Linked DNA regions of Homo sapiens: region 2 is linked to region 1. Evidence: promoter capture Hi-C in 16 types of primary human blood cells and fetal thymus (Javierre and others, 2016). All regions are on one chromosome and are shown on one strand. The core of a region is centred on a gene start or on the middle of the fragment in contact, and the rest is flanking DNA. Distances in the headings are between cores, read along the strand shown.

Region 1 (5,611 bases), core at 306-2,805:
AGGATGGTAGTGTTCCACTTCGTTTTGCTATTCAATTATTGCTGATAGATACATGTTTTCAAAAAGGCCATTGGCATCTGTTTGCTTTCTCCTACTTCTCCAAGTGAATACACCCTTCAATATGTAGTAAATACATATGTGGAGTTATGTTTTGAGATTTTTTTGAAGGATTTGAACCAAACTGTTTAAACAGCTGGTAGCCTAAAACTGGAATATTTCCCACAAGGGAAAAATAATTATTTGGGGAATGTATGTTACCACAAACTCATCTGACTTGGAAAGTGCGCCTTTACACCAAATCAAATAACTGAACAATGGGATTAGAAACTTTTAATTATTATTAACCTCGGCCACCGGGCGCCGTGGCTCACGCCTGTAATTCCAGCACTTTGGAAGGCAGTGGCAGGTGGATCGCTCGAGCTCAGGAGTTCAACACCAACCTAGCAACATGACAAAACCCCGCCTCTACAAACATAAATAAAAAACAAAAATCATTAACCTTGAGTGAGTCAAGTTCATCTGCAGACTGAAAAAAATAAAGTGTAACAGAATTTTGATTTAAAAAACGCTTTCAAAAAAGCATTTCAAAATGCTCTAAGTATGTTTCAAAAATACACTTAAAAATATGTTTCCAACACACTGAAGGGATTTAACTAAGATCCACAATTACAGTTACGATACAAACTGTAAGCTAAAAGGCAGCAACTTAAGCTGAGACAGTTACTAACATCCCTCGAGCAGCGTTTTTTGTTGCGATTCGGCGCCGCACCCGTCACCCCGCCCTCCGGGGAGGAACCTAGAAAGGAAGGGTGGTACATTTCTAAACCAGGCCACCCACACATGAATCAAGCGGCATCACAGGCTGTCAACAACCGGGTCTCTATTTTCTCTCCTCCTCCGGCGCCCCGCCCGTGCGGGACATCAGCTCCCAGGATGCGTCAATCGCAGATCGCCCAAGCGTAAGAGGTGGCGAGAGGCCACCACGGTTGCCCAACAGTTGCGTTCCCAGGCTGCCTGGTGTGACGCAGCAGCCCCCGCCCGGACCCTGAGGCCTGGCGCTCCGACTGAGCCGAGGCCTGTGCTACCCGACACTCCTTGCGACCCGGCCCCTTAGGCTTATTCAGCGCGGCCCTTCCCGGCTTCCCGAGTCCCATCGCAGTCTCTCCCCACCCCCGTTCCTCCCCGGTTCCTTGTCAGTGTCCGCCGCGATGTCCTTGCGCAACCATCCCAAGTGACATTAGCGCCCATACCCGCACGGAGCGAGCCTGAAGCTCCCACTTCCCGGAATTCAACGCCGGGCCGCTAAGGGCGGGCACCCAAGCGAGGATCAGCGGACTAAGGCCGCGACCAGAGTCCAGCGGTCTCCGCGCAGTCAGAGTCCGACAGCCTCTGCGCATCCGCCGTGCGCACTCCCATTCGTGCGCGTGCGCGCACTCGCCCCCCCCGCCCCGCCCCAGCACCAATCGCTTTTTTCCTACGCCCACGACCCTTCAACGTAGTCCCTCCCGCCTCCCGCGCGCGAGCAGAAAGGCTTCGGCGTGCGCGCGCCCGCCCGCCTCGCGCTCTGTCGGGAAGGGGAGTGAGCAGAGGCGCTTACGTCGCGCGGGAGGCGGAGGCGACGGCGACCTCGGTGGCGGCGGCGGCTACGACGGAGACGGTTGCGCTCGCTTGCTTTCTCGGCGTCATGGCGGCTGCCGGGGGCAGATAAGCGGAGGGAGCGGGAGCGCGCGCGCGACGGCGGCGGCGGCGGCGGCGACGACTGGTTACTTATAGCTCTTGCTGCCCTCGCCCTTGGTGCTTCAATAATGAATTGTTAGCTCCACTCCGCAGGGGATCGCGCGTTGGTGCTGCGGACCGGGGCTTCCCCTTCCCCTCCGCGTCTGTCCCCTTCCCCCTCCCCCGCACGGACTCTTGCTTACCCCGAGACGCCGGAGCCCTAGGACTGGGCGGCGGAGATCCCGGGCCTGGGCGCGGGGGAGGCCGTCCACCCGAGTCGGCTCCCTCCGCCCCGCCAAGCCCGCCGGTAAGAAAGGGGGCGGCGGGCGGGTCAGGATGTGGCGGAGAGGACAGGAACCGGCCGGGCGGAGGGCGGGCGCGGCGCGGTGCCCAGGCGGCGGCCCAGCGGCCGGGTGAAGGCCGGGTGGCTCTGTGAGTGCCGGTGGCGGTGTACGGGCCTGGCGCGCAGGGGGCGTGTGAGCGGCGAGTACAGGCCGGGGCCGCAGAACGCATCCTTGCGCCGGCCCGGCGGCCCTGCCCCGGCCTCTTCGGCTTGGTGCCGACCGGGCCGCGAGAGGAGACCCGCGAATGGCTAGCACTTAGCCGGTGCGTGGGTCCTGCCGCGACCCGGGCTCCCAGCACGTGGGGAGCGGCGGGAGGGGGAGGGGGCGGCGGCTCGGGCGAGCCTGGGAGGGCGCGGGGCGGGTCTGCGGGAAGTTTGAGGCGGGAAGAGGGACTCCTGGACCGGGATGGAGGCCCTGGGAGAGGGGGGCAGGTCCGCGAGGGAGGCTGATTGGAGCGCGCTGGATGGATGAGTGAGGATGGTTTCCAAACCTCTTTCGAGTGCCGCTTTAAAAACTTAGCAGGAGCAAAGCAACTGCTAAAAGACAGAGGATTGAAGAGGTTTAATAACTTAGGGTAGTCATTGTGGAGACGCTTGAGAGGACACAGCGCTGTGTGCGCTTGGAGCTTCAGAACTCAGGGTTGTGAAAAGGGTCTCAGAGGACTTATTCGGATAAGGGAGATGGAGGGGAAAGGAAGTTAAAATGTACAGAGAAAGCCATTTTGAGGGACGAAAGGAAGGTGAAAAGGAAAGAACGAAAAGGGGAGTGAACTTTTTAAAGGAAGAAACGGGAAAGGCAGTTTGTTAACATACTTAGATTTTTTAAGACTTAATTGTTCAGTAAGGCACTTTGACTAGGGTTGAGATTAATATTTAACATTAGGAATAAATGTTGAGTAGAACGGTTACTTTTTAGATAACCTGTTCTTGCAGAGTCTACTGGACAGTAGTCTAGAGAATTAACATCCTGATCCAGATGCAGACTTTGCTATCATTGAGTTGGTAACAATCTGTTTCCCTCCCTCTCTTGTGGAATGGAAATAATCGTAGGAGTGAATTCTCTTTGCTGAGGTCGGAGGACAGCTCTGCTCTCAGTTGGCTGTCTCGGTACTTTCTGGCTGGGGAAGGATCTGACGTCTCCTTCCCCCGCTTCTTCCTCTCCCTCCCCTGCCAGAGATCTCCTTTGTTTATTCGTGGATGGCTTGTAGGTGATTCTTCAGTGTTGTACTGAAATCTTTAAAGGTGGAAATGGTGTGTCTTGGTTCATTATTCTTGCCCCAAATTTTTTACGTAAAAAATCAGATATAGTGTATATTCTATTACCTTTTCAATTTTTTTCACAAAATAAAAACCAAGTGCAAACTGGTTAAGTATTATTTAAATGTTATCATCCCACTATCCGTTTACCTGTTAAATAACACATTTATTTTGAGCTATGCATTTTTGTTGAGAGTATATGGTATCTTTTATTTGCCTGTTCCTCCCATGGGAGCGTTTTCAGAACTTTCTCACTCAAGTGTATGAAGTTCTTGGTGATAGGAGTGAGGGCTTGATTAAAGGTAACCTCCTCCCACCCCCCCCCCCACTTCATTTATTCGACCAAGTTATCTAATAAGACTCCGTTATCTACTCTTGGGATGTATGCATATGTTACATCGTATCACCTTGCTTTAGGAGTCTATAAAAACATTGTTAGTTGCAGTTAGTCTCTAAAAATCCTTTCACTCCACAAATATTTTAATTTTTTCTGTCCGAAGTATATTAGCAGTAGCATACTAAATTCTAGTTAGCAGTCAGGAGTGTAGTTATTACAAGTCTAGATATTTTAAGTATTTAATAAAAGGCCCCCACTTCTTCCTTAACAGCTGTAGTCTAATTGGCCTACGTAGATTTATACGTTTTAGACAGGGCTTAATTTACCTTTTTTCTGCAGGAAATTTTGTTAATTTATTAATATATTTTCTTTAGGTGAATCAAAGGAGAGTCCCAGAAAACCTGTGACTGTTGAAGAAAATTCATCTGTGAATTTTTATATTCAAGGAGTCAGTATTTATATTCATCTTTTAAACTGGGAAGATTTATATTTTACTTTAAAACTTCTTGATAATAATTTACAATGAATGGACACAGTGATGAAGAAAGTGTTAGAAACAGTAGTGGAGAATCAAGGTAAGTAAGCACTTTGTTATCAATTGTTTACTATGAAGAGAGTTGAAAACTTGACTTTTTTCTTTATTGTTATTGTTGTTATTTAGTTTTCCTCATAGGTAGCAGAGTTTTCAGGTTTTCCTCTTAGCTATCCAAATACTAAAAAAATTCTGATATACGAACCTTTTTTCATAATACAGGTTTTAATTATATTTTTCATTCAGATACACAGTAGATCTTAAATATAGAAAGTTTTTGTTTACTTAAATCTATTTGGAAGTTTATATTTGAGCTAATAATTAAGCTGGAGCATGTATAATAGATTTAAATTGTTTTGACTGTTAGTGAAATTTCTAGATGAAGGCAATAAAAATTTTTTCACTCATCTTTTTCTGGCATTTTGTCTTCTATACCTGTACTGTCCAGTGTGGTAACCACTAGCCACATGTGGCTATTTGAACTCAATTACAAAATATTCAGAATTTACTTAGTCATACTAGATATATTTCAAGTGCTGAATAATCACATGTGGCTAGTGGCTACCATATTGGACAGCACATAGAAAACATTCTATCACTGGAGAAAGTTTTAGACAGTGCTGAGCCAGACATTTGTTGAAATATTACTGTGGCCCTTTTTTATTTTCAGATTGGAGTTTTAATTATCTGTGAAGGAGTTAAGAGTTCTTGCTTGGGTCAAGTGTTTGCAAAGAAGATTCTTTAAATTCTGTAGCTCTCAAATTTTGAGTTATCTGCACATTAGTTTACAATCCATGTAGTTATATGCATTATCATATATAGAAATTAGGAATGTGGGCACTGGAGTCAAACTGTTTGCTTACCCTATTTCTACCTCTTATTAGTTGTGTGAATTAGGGCAAATTACTTAATCTCTGAGGCTCTGATTTTTGCCCCATAAAGAGGGGATTAAACTATTGTTTATCTTATTTAAAGTTCACGGCTGGGCTTGTTGGATCCTGTTTGTAATCCCAGCACTTTGAGAGGCTGAGGAAGGAGGATCACTTGAACTCAAAAGTTGGAGACCAGTTTAGGCAGCATAGTGAGACTTTGTCTGTAATTTATAAAAAATAAAATTTAAAAAAAATTTGAGGATTGAGATGCTTCATGTAAAGGGCTTAAAATATTTTCTGAGATAATGAGCACTGAATATTTGCTTATTGTAACCAGCATGTTTTGTGTAACACAGGATACTATATAAAAAAAACATTAATTACAGTGATGGAGACATGGGGGTGGACAAGAAACAGGAAAGTTTTGGCAATTAGGAAGATTAAGAAAAAATGTTAGATAGAAAACTAAATAGTGGTATTTGTATTTGATCTGAAACTTGGACTTTTCTTTTTCTTTTTTTTTTTTTGAGACAGAGTCTTGCTCTGTCGCCCAG
Region 2 (6,213 bases), core at 89-2,588, about 33 Mb after region 1:
CGCCCGGGAGTCTCGAGCCGGCCTAGCCGCAGAGGCCACAGTGGCTGCCTGGCCAGCGCCCTCCCACGTGCGGCAGCTCCACGCCGGCGCCTACCAGCCCCGCCCCGCGCCGTGCCCCGCCCCAGCTCGCGTGTCTGGCCCCGCCCCAGCCCTCGCGTCCGGCCCCGCCCCAGGGGCGGTGCTGGCCAGACCCTGCCGCCTGAGAGAGAGCACAGCCTGGTGGGTTCTGGGGTCTACGGCCTAGGGGCCGGGGAAGTTTGCGCCGCCGCGACCAGTGCTGCGATCCCGAGCCGGGCTCCAGCCCCGAGGACCAGGGGTCGGGCGGGCCTGCCTACGGAACCCCGCGGGCCAGCAGCAGTCGTCTCGCGTCCTCCTGCTTGGTAAGGGGCTTCTGTCTGGCAAGGGTGCGCCTCCCGCCGCTCCGGACCGGGGCCCGCACCGGCACCCGCTGCACACCGGGCAGGGCCGAGGCGAGGCCGGGTACCTGAGGGAGGACGGAAGGGAGGGGGAGCTCGATGCGCTCTGGGGAGAGGAAGGGGGAGAAGCCTATTTCCCTCTTCTCACCCCTTTTCCCCCCATTCTGTTTTTACCTTCTGCCCTGGGGCCTTATTTAGTGCTTATGACCCCGTGGCCTAGAGGCTGACATCGCCTTTAAAATAACTACACAAATAATAAACATTATAGCGGCGGGTACCACACCCTGGCTTTGAATTAGGGAACCTGGGGAGCAGATGGATGATGCGATTTGGTGGAAATCAGCCATGAATGCCGCCTGGCCCTGCGCCACTGTTTGGATGCGATAGTATTCCATGTGAATGAACATGACCGGGAGCTTCCAGCTTGTCCACGAGAGCACAGCCTCTGCAGGGAGCGCCGGTCGGCTTGTAGTATCCATCGACTTGGGCAGCGATTTCCTGACATGTCTGCTGATTAAATAGAAATGCCATTTTTATTAAGAACGACACTCACCACTTGAATAACCTTTCGCGAATGTGTTTCCTCATCAAATAACTCTCAACCTACAAAAGTGGGTAGAGTGTACATTATTAATACTTTTTTTAGATCCCATGAAAAAGAGGAAGATGCTTGGTATACATCAGCTTTTAGTCAGCAGTATGAAATGCCTCTTAACTTAGTACTGAGGCCTTTAGGGGATTTCTGTATGGTGAGATATGCAGTGACAGTCTAAGCTTATGCTGTACATGTTTTGAAGACATTTTTACTTATTCCAAGATTTAACATACTCGTATACCACTGGGTATTAATGAAAATATGTAATAAATTACCTTCACAATACTTTGTGCTCTCCTGACTCTTTACAAAGAGAAAAGATGAAAGGTCATACAGTTTTGTGTTTTGTTTTTACCTTTAATACACTTTATAACCCATATCATCTTTGTAATTTATGACTTTCCTGACTGATTCTTTAAAATAACTTAGTTCAGTGTTTTCATTTTTCTTATCAAGGAAAAGTGTTTAAGCTTCTAAAATGTCATCTATCAAGCACCTGGTTTATGCAGTTATTCGTTTCTTACGGGAACAAAGTCAGATGGACACTTACACCTCGGATGAACAAGAAAGTTTGGAAGGTATGCATCTGCTCTTTGTGTTCATTTATATTATAATTATAAACGAAGACTAAAATAGCTGTAAGCCCAACTTGATGATCTATTGTAACATAATCAGAATTTTTTTTGATCTTTCAAGAGGAGAGGCCTGACTATAAGGTTATCGTATTTCCATTTTCTGAAGCTTGTTTTGTTTGTTTTAACAACAAATTAAGAGGACTATTGTTCATTTATTGAACAAATACTATATGTCAGAAGTATGCTGTTCATATTATAGGCAATTTTTTCTTCACAGCAACTGTTATGTTAGTATTATCCCCATTTAACAAGTGAGAAAATAAAACCAGGGCCAGGCTTGGTGGCTCATGCCTGTAATCCCAGCACTTTGGGAGGCCGAGGCAGGTAGGTCATTTGAGGTCAGGAGTTCAAGACCAGGCTGGGCAACATGGCAAAACCCTGTCTCTACTAAAAATACAAAAAGTAGCCAGGTGTGGTGGCACTTGCCTGTAGTCCCAGCTACTCAGGAGGCTGAGATAGGAGGGTGGCTTAAACCCAGGAGGTGGAGGTTGCAGTGAGCTGAGATCACACCACTGCACTCCAGCCTGGGCCATGAGCGAGACCCTATCTCAAAAAAAAAAAAAAAAAAAGAAAAAGAAAATGAAACCAAATAGCGTAAGCAGATAACACAGCTGATATGTGATAAAGCTGAGATTTAAATCCTGGTTAATACTCTGAAGATCTTGTTGTCTCCATTTCCTAATAGGAAAGCATCCAGTTTAGAAATAATATATAAAAATACCTGAGTCATTTTAATAGCACTATGTAAAAGTCTAATAATTATACCACTAGTGAGATCTGACCAGTGCCTAATTTGGAACTTGAAATGGGAGCATTTCACCTGTGTTTTACGTTAACTTTAATATTGGATTCGGTAATCTGTAAAGTTGAACAGGATGTGGGTGATAGCATCATGTGTTTCCTCGACACCGTCTTTGTTCTTCATGTTTATGTGTTATAAAATTTAAATTCAGTACAACCATAACAAGGTAGAATTCTGCAGATGGGCTTGTGGAGGTTCAGTGAATCTGGTGTCCCTGTGGCCTAAAGTCTTTTATTTATTTATTTATTTTTTGAGACAGGGTCTGTCTGGCTCTGTCACCCAGGCTGGAGTGTAGTGGCACAATCTCGGCTCACTGCAACCTCCACCTCCTGGGCTCAATTGATCCTCCCACCTCGGCCTCCTGAGTAGCTGGGACTACAGGAGTACACTACCACACCCGGCTAAGTTTTGTATTTTTTTTTGTAGAGACAGAGTTTCGCCATGTTGCCCAGGCTGTTCTCAAACTCCTGGGCTCAAGTGATCCACTCGCCTTGGCCTCCCAAAGTACTGAGATTACAGGCATGAGCCACCCCTCCCAGCCCCAAAGTCTTAATTATTGCAGTGAGAGTGCATTTGGAAGAACTTAATAAATGACAGTATAGTTATAAATCCCATCTTGAAACTGCTTCTATAATTTCAACAAGCATTTCCCTGTGAATATGCTTTTAGGAGGTGGAGATGAAAATTGGGCATTTGCTCTAAACCTCCTTGCAGTCTGGTTAGTTGATGTCTTTCCAGGTGGCAGTGAGAGGAGCAGGTGATGCACAGTTGGAGAACATTGCAATCAGTCCATTTAATATTAAGGTCTTTTTGTTCTCCTTGATGATTAGACTATGTGAAAATAAAGTTGATTGGTTATCTAAGGAGAATGTTAGTTATGATTGCTCTGTAGCAAACAGATAAATGCAGTCATTTAAGAAAAGATGTTTCTTTTCTAATCAAAAGCAGCATAAAAGTTTTAAGGGCCAGAAAGAAAATTGAGGGTTTTTTTTTCAAACCAAGATGTTATGTCCTATTTTTAGGATGGTATTCAGCCAAAAATATGTGCCTTCAGCTGTTTGTTATATATGGCAGTCAGAAAGGGTGCCAATTGTTTTTGACTGACCCCTATTTTTGACTCTGTGAGTCTAATTTAATTGAACATGAAATCATGTGGAGGTGTCTGCCCACCTTCTAGACATTTTTAAAAGCCCTAGGAAAGAAGCCTCAGTTCTAATACCAGCTTTACCACTACTGTGAAGCTGGTATATCATCAGCTTTGTCTTGCCATCAGATTATGTCACCCACTCCTCTTAATTATTGTCATCTACTGACATTTGCTTCATTCCTTGACTAATTGTGGTTCCTGCTCACTGTCACTCTCTCTAGCACTACTCCTATTTAGTTCTTGGCAATTGCAATATACTGATTGATGATTATTTTAGTTCCCTGGCTCTCAGTTATTGACCTCATCCAGTGATCTCAAACACTTGATCATATTCTAGATCAGTGGTTCTCAACTTGGGGGTGATTTTGCAATATCTGGATACATTCTGATTGTCACAACTGGGTGAGGCGGGTGGCTGGTATTATTGGCATCTAGTGAGTAGGTAGAGGCCATGGATGCTGCTAATGCACAGGACAGCCCCTGACAAGAAGAAATTACCTGATCCAAAATGTCAGTATGCGGAGATTGAGAAAGCCTTCCCTAGACTTAATCATTACCAGAATTGCATTCCTTCCCTAATCTCTATCCCAAACATTTCACTTCCTGACCACTATTGCCTGTCTTTCCAAGATTACTCCCTCTAGAATCCCTACTCCAGCTATTCTTTGACCCAACCAGTACCTCCAATCTGTTCATGCCTCACCTTTCCCCACACCTCTTCTTACTCATCTTAAATTCCATGGTTGATAATTATAATTATTCCCTTGTATCTCCTTCCCTTTCTTGCAAAGCCCAACTTTGTTTAAATCCAACTCTCCACCTACTTTGTGCCCAACTACTCACACCCACTCATGTAGCCGTAAATAAATGGAGCAAAACACACAACTTTGCTGACTAGTCCCACTTTAAATTCATGACTGTGAACTTCAAGTAGACCTTTAATGCTGTCAGGCAATCACAGTATCTGTTCTAAGTTCATTCATACATTTATTTTCCTAGATGACCATTTTAACACTTTCTCATATCTTCTCAAACCCTCAAACCTCCTTCACTGTCCTCACTTTTAGTTGGTTACCTTGCTTTCTACTCCACCAAGAAAGCTGAAATAATAAGAAAATAGCTGGATATGATGGCACCCACATACTCGGCCTGCCTGCCTGTTTGACTAGCTATTACCATAGATGGACTATTCATGTTCCTTTCTAAATGGAACCCCTCTACTGGTATACTAGATCCCATCCTGTCTCACCTACTCCAGGATATCACTTTAGTTATTTTATTTTTTTAATCTTACATCATAAAATTTTCATACCCTACTGGATCATTTCCATCATCATATAAACTTACCATTATTCTCCCTTCTTCAAAAAAGCAAAAACAAACAGCAAATAATTACTGCTTAATTGTATGTCTCCCTTTGCAGCAAAACCATTTGAAAGAATGGTCTATACTTGCTTTCTCCAACTCCTCTCCTTCTATTCTTCTTAAACCCATTCTGATTAAGCCTTTGCCTCAATCTCTCAATCTATACCACTCTCATCAAGGACATTAGTGATTTCTGTGTTGTTTAATTTAATGGTCAGTTCTCAGCTTTCATCTGAGTTATTAGCTGTCATTGATAATGTTGATGGTCATTTCCTCATGAAATGACCCCCACCACCCCCAGTATATTTTATTTAGTTTCCAGGATACCTCATACTTTCTTGGCTTTCTTATCTCATTGTTTGCTTCTTTTCTGTCCCCTTTTCTGGTTCCTCTTCTTTTCCCTGACCTGGTGTACCCAGGGTCCACTGCTTGATCCTCTTCTTTTCATTATCTATACCCATTTCTTTGGTGATATCATTCGGCTTCTTAGCCTTAAATACCCCTTATTTATATGCTATTTCCCAAATTTATGCCCTCAGCCCAGACCTTTCTTCTGAAGGTCTTATATATCCAAGTACCTACTAGATATCTCCACTTGCATGTCTAATAGGCATCCCAAATTTAACATGGCCAAAACCGAACTTCTGATTCCCCCACCCAAAATCTGTTCTGTATGCAATTTCCCAATCTCTGTTTATGTCAGCGTCATCTTTTCTGTTGCTCAGGCCAGAAACTTGGGTATCATTCTGGACTCTTCTCTTTCTCAAATACCCTGTAACTAATCATTCAATAAATCCTGTTGGCTACACTTTCAAAATATGTCTAGATTTGACATCTCTTATACCACCTCTGGACTGAACTATTTCTTGACTGTTTTAGTGTGATAGCCTCTAACTGGTCTCTCTGCTTCTATTCTTGCCCCTCCATTGGCTGTTCCAAACACAGGCACCAGTGATCTTTACAAACAGAGTATGTGAGTTTCTATCATTTATCTACTCAAAACATTGTTTAAAGGATCTATATAATTTGACTTCTGTGACATATTGTTCACCTACTCCTCCCCTTTCTCATTTGGCTTCAGCCATTATTAGCTTTCTCTTTATAAATGTACCATATCCTCTTGCCTAAGGGCTTTTGCTCTGGCTGGTTCCTCTGCCTGGAATGGTCTTCACAGATAATGCTAACACCCCCGTCTCCTTTAAGTCTTTGTCAAATCTCTTTTCTCAGTAAGGCCTACCCTGAACTCTCTGTTA

What was found. Contacts are between HindIII fragments. The CHiCAGO score rates a contact against its expected background, and 5 or more counts as called.
Region 2: a fragment that was not itself captured here is called in contact with the fragment with the promoter of CHD1 in region 1 in 1 of 17 cell types (non-activated CD4 T cells); the score reaches 5.2 in non-activated CD4 T cells.

What each region holds. Positions count from the first base shown.
Region 1 is chr5:98,924,951-98,930,561 of GRCh38, reverse strand. CHD1 (chromodomain helicase DNA binding protein 1) reads left to right here and starts at 1,555. Exons shown (of 36, transcript NM_001270.4): 1 at 1,555-2,023; 2 at 4,028-4,228. The coding sequence starts at 4,176. CHD1-DT (CHD1 divergent transcript) reads right to left here and starts at 2,000. Exons shown (of 4, transcript NR_151718.1): 1 at 1,920-2,000. LOC100289230 (a long non-coding RNA gene) reads right to left here and starts at 1,428. Exons shown (of 1, transcript NR_036530.1): 1 at 1-1,428. RefSeq lists enhancers at 822-1,151, 640-1,538 and silencers at 1,312-1,521, 1,782-2,411. The HindIII fragment of the contact is 7,543 bases long and covers 1-5,611 here.
Region 2 is chr5:65,716,084-65,722,296 of GRCh38, reverse strand. It overlaps SGTB (small glutamine rich tetratricopeptide repeat co-chaperone beta), which reads left to right and starts at 188. Exons shown (of 11, transcript NM_019072.3): 1 at 188-380; 2 at 1,468-1,589. The coding sequence starts at 1,490. It overlaps NLN (neurolysin), which reads right to left and starts at 92. Exons shown (of 13, transcript NM_020726.5): 1 at 1-92. RefSeq lists silencers at 1-387, 458-507, 568-617, 2,662-2,858. The HindIII fragment of the contact is 291 bases long and covers 1,193-1,483 here.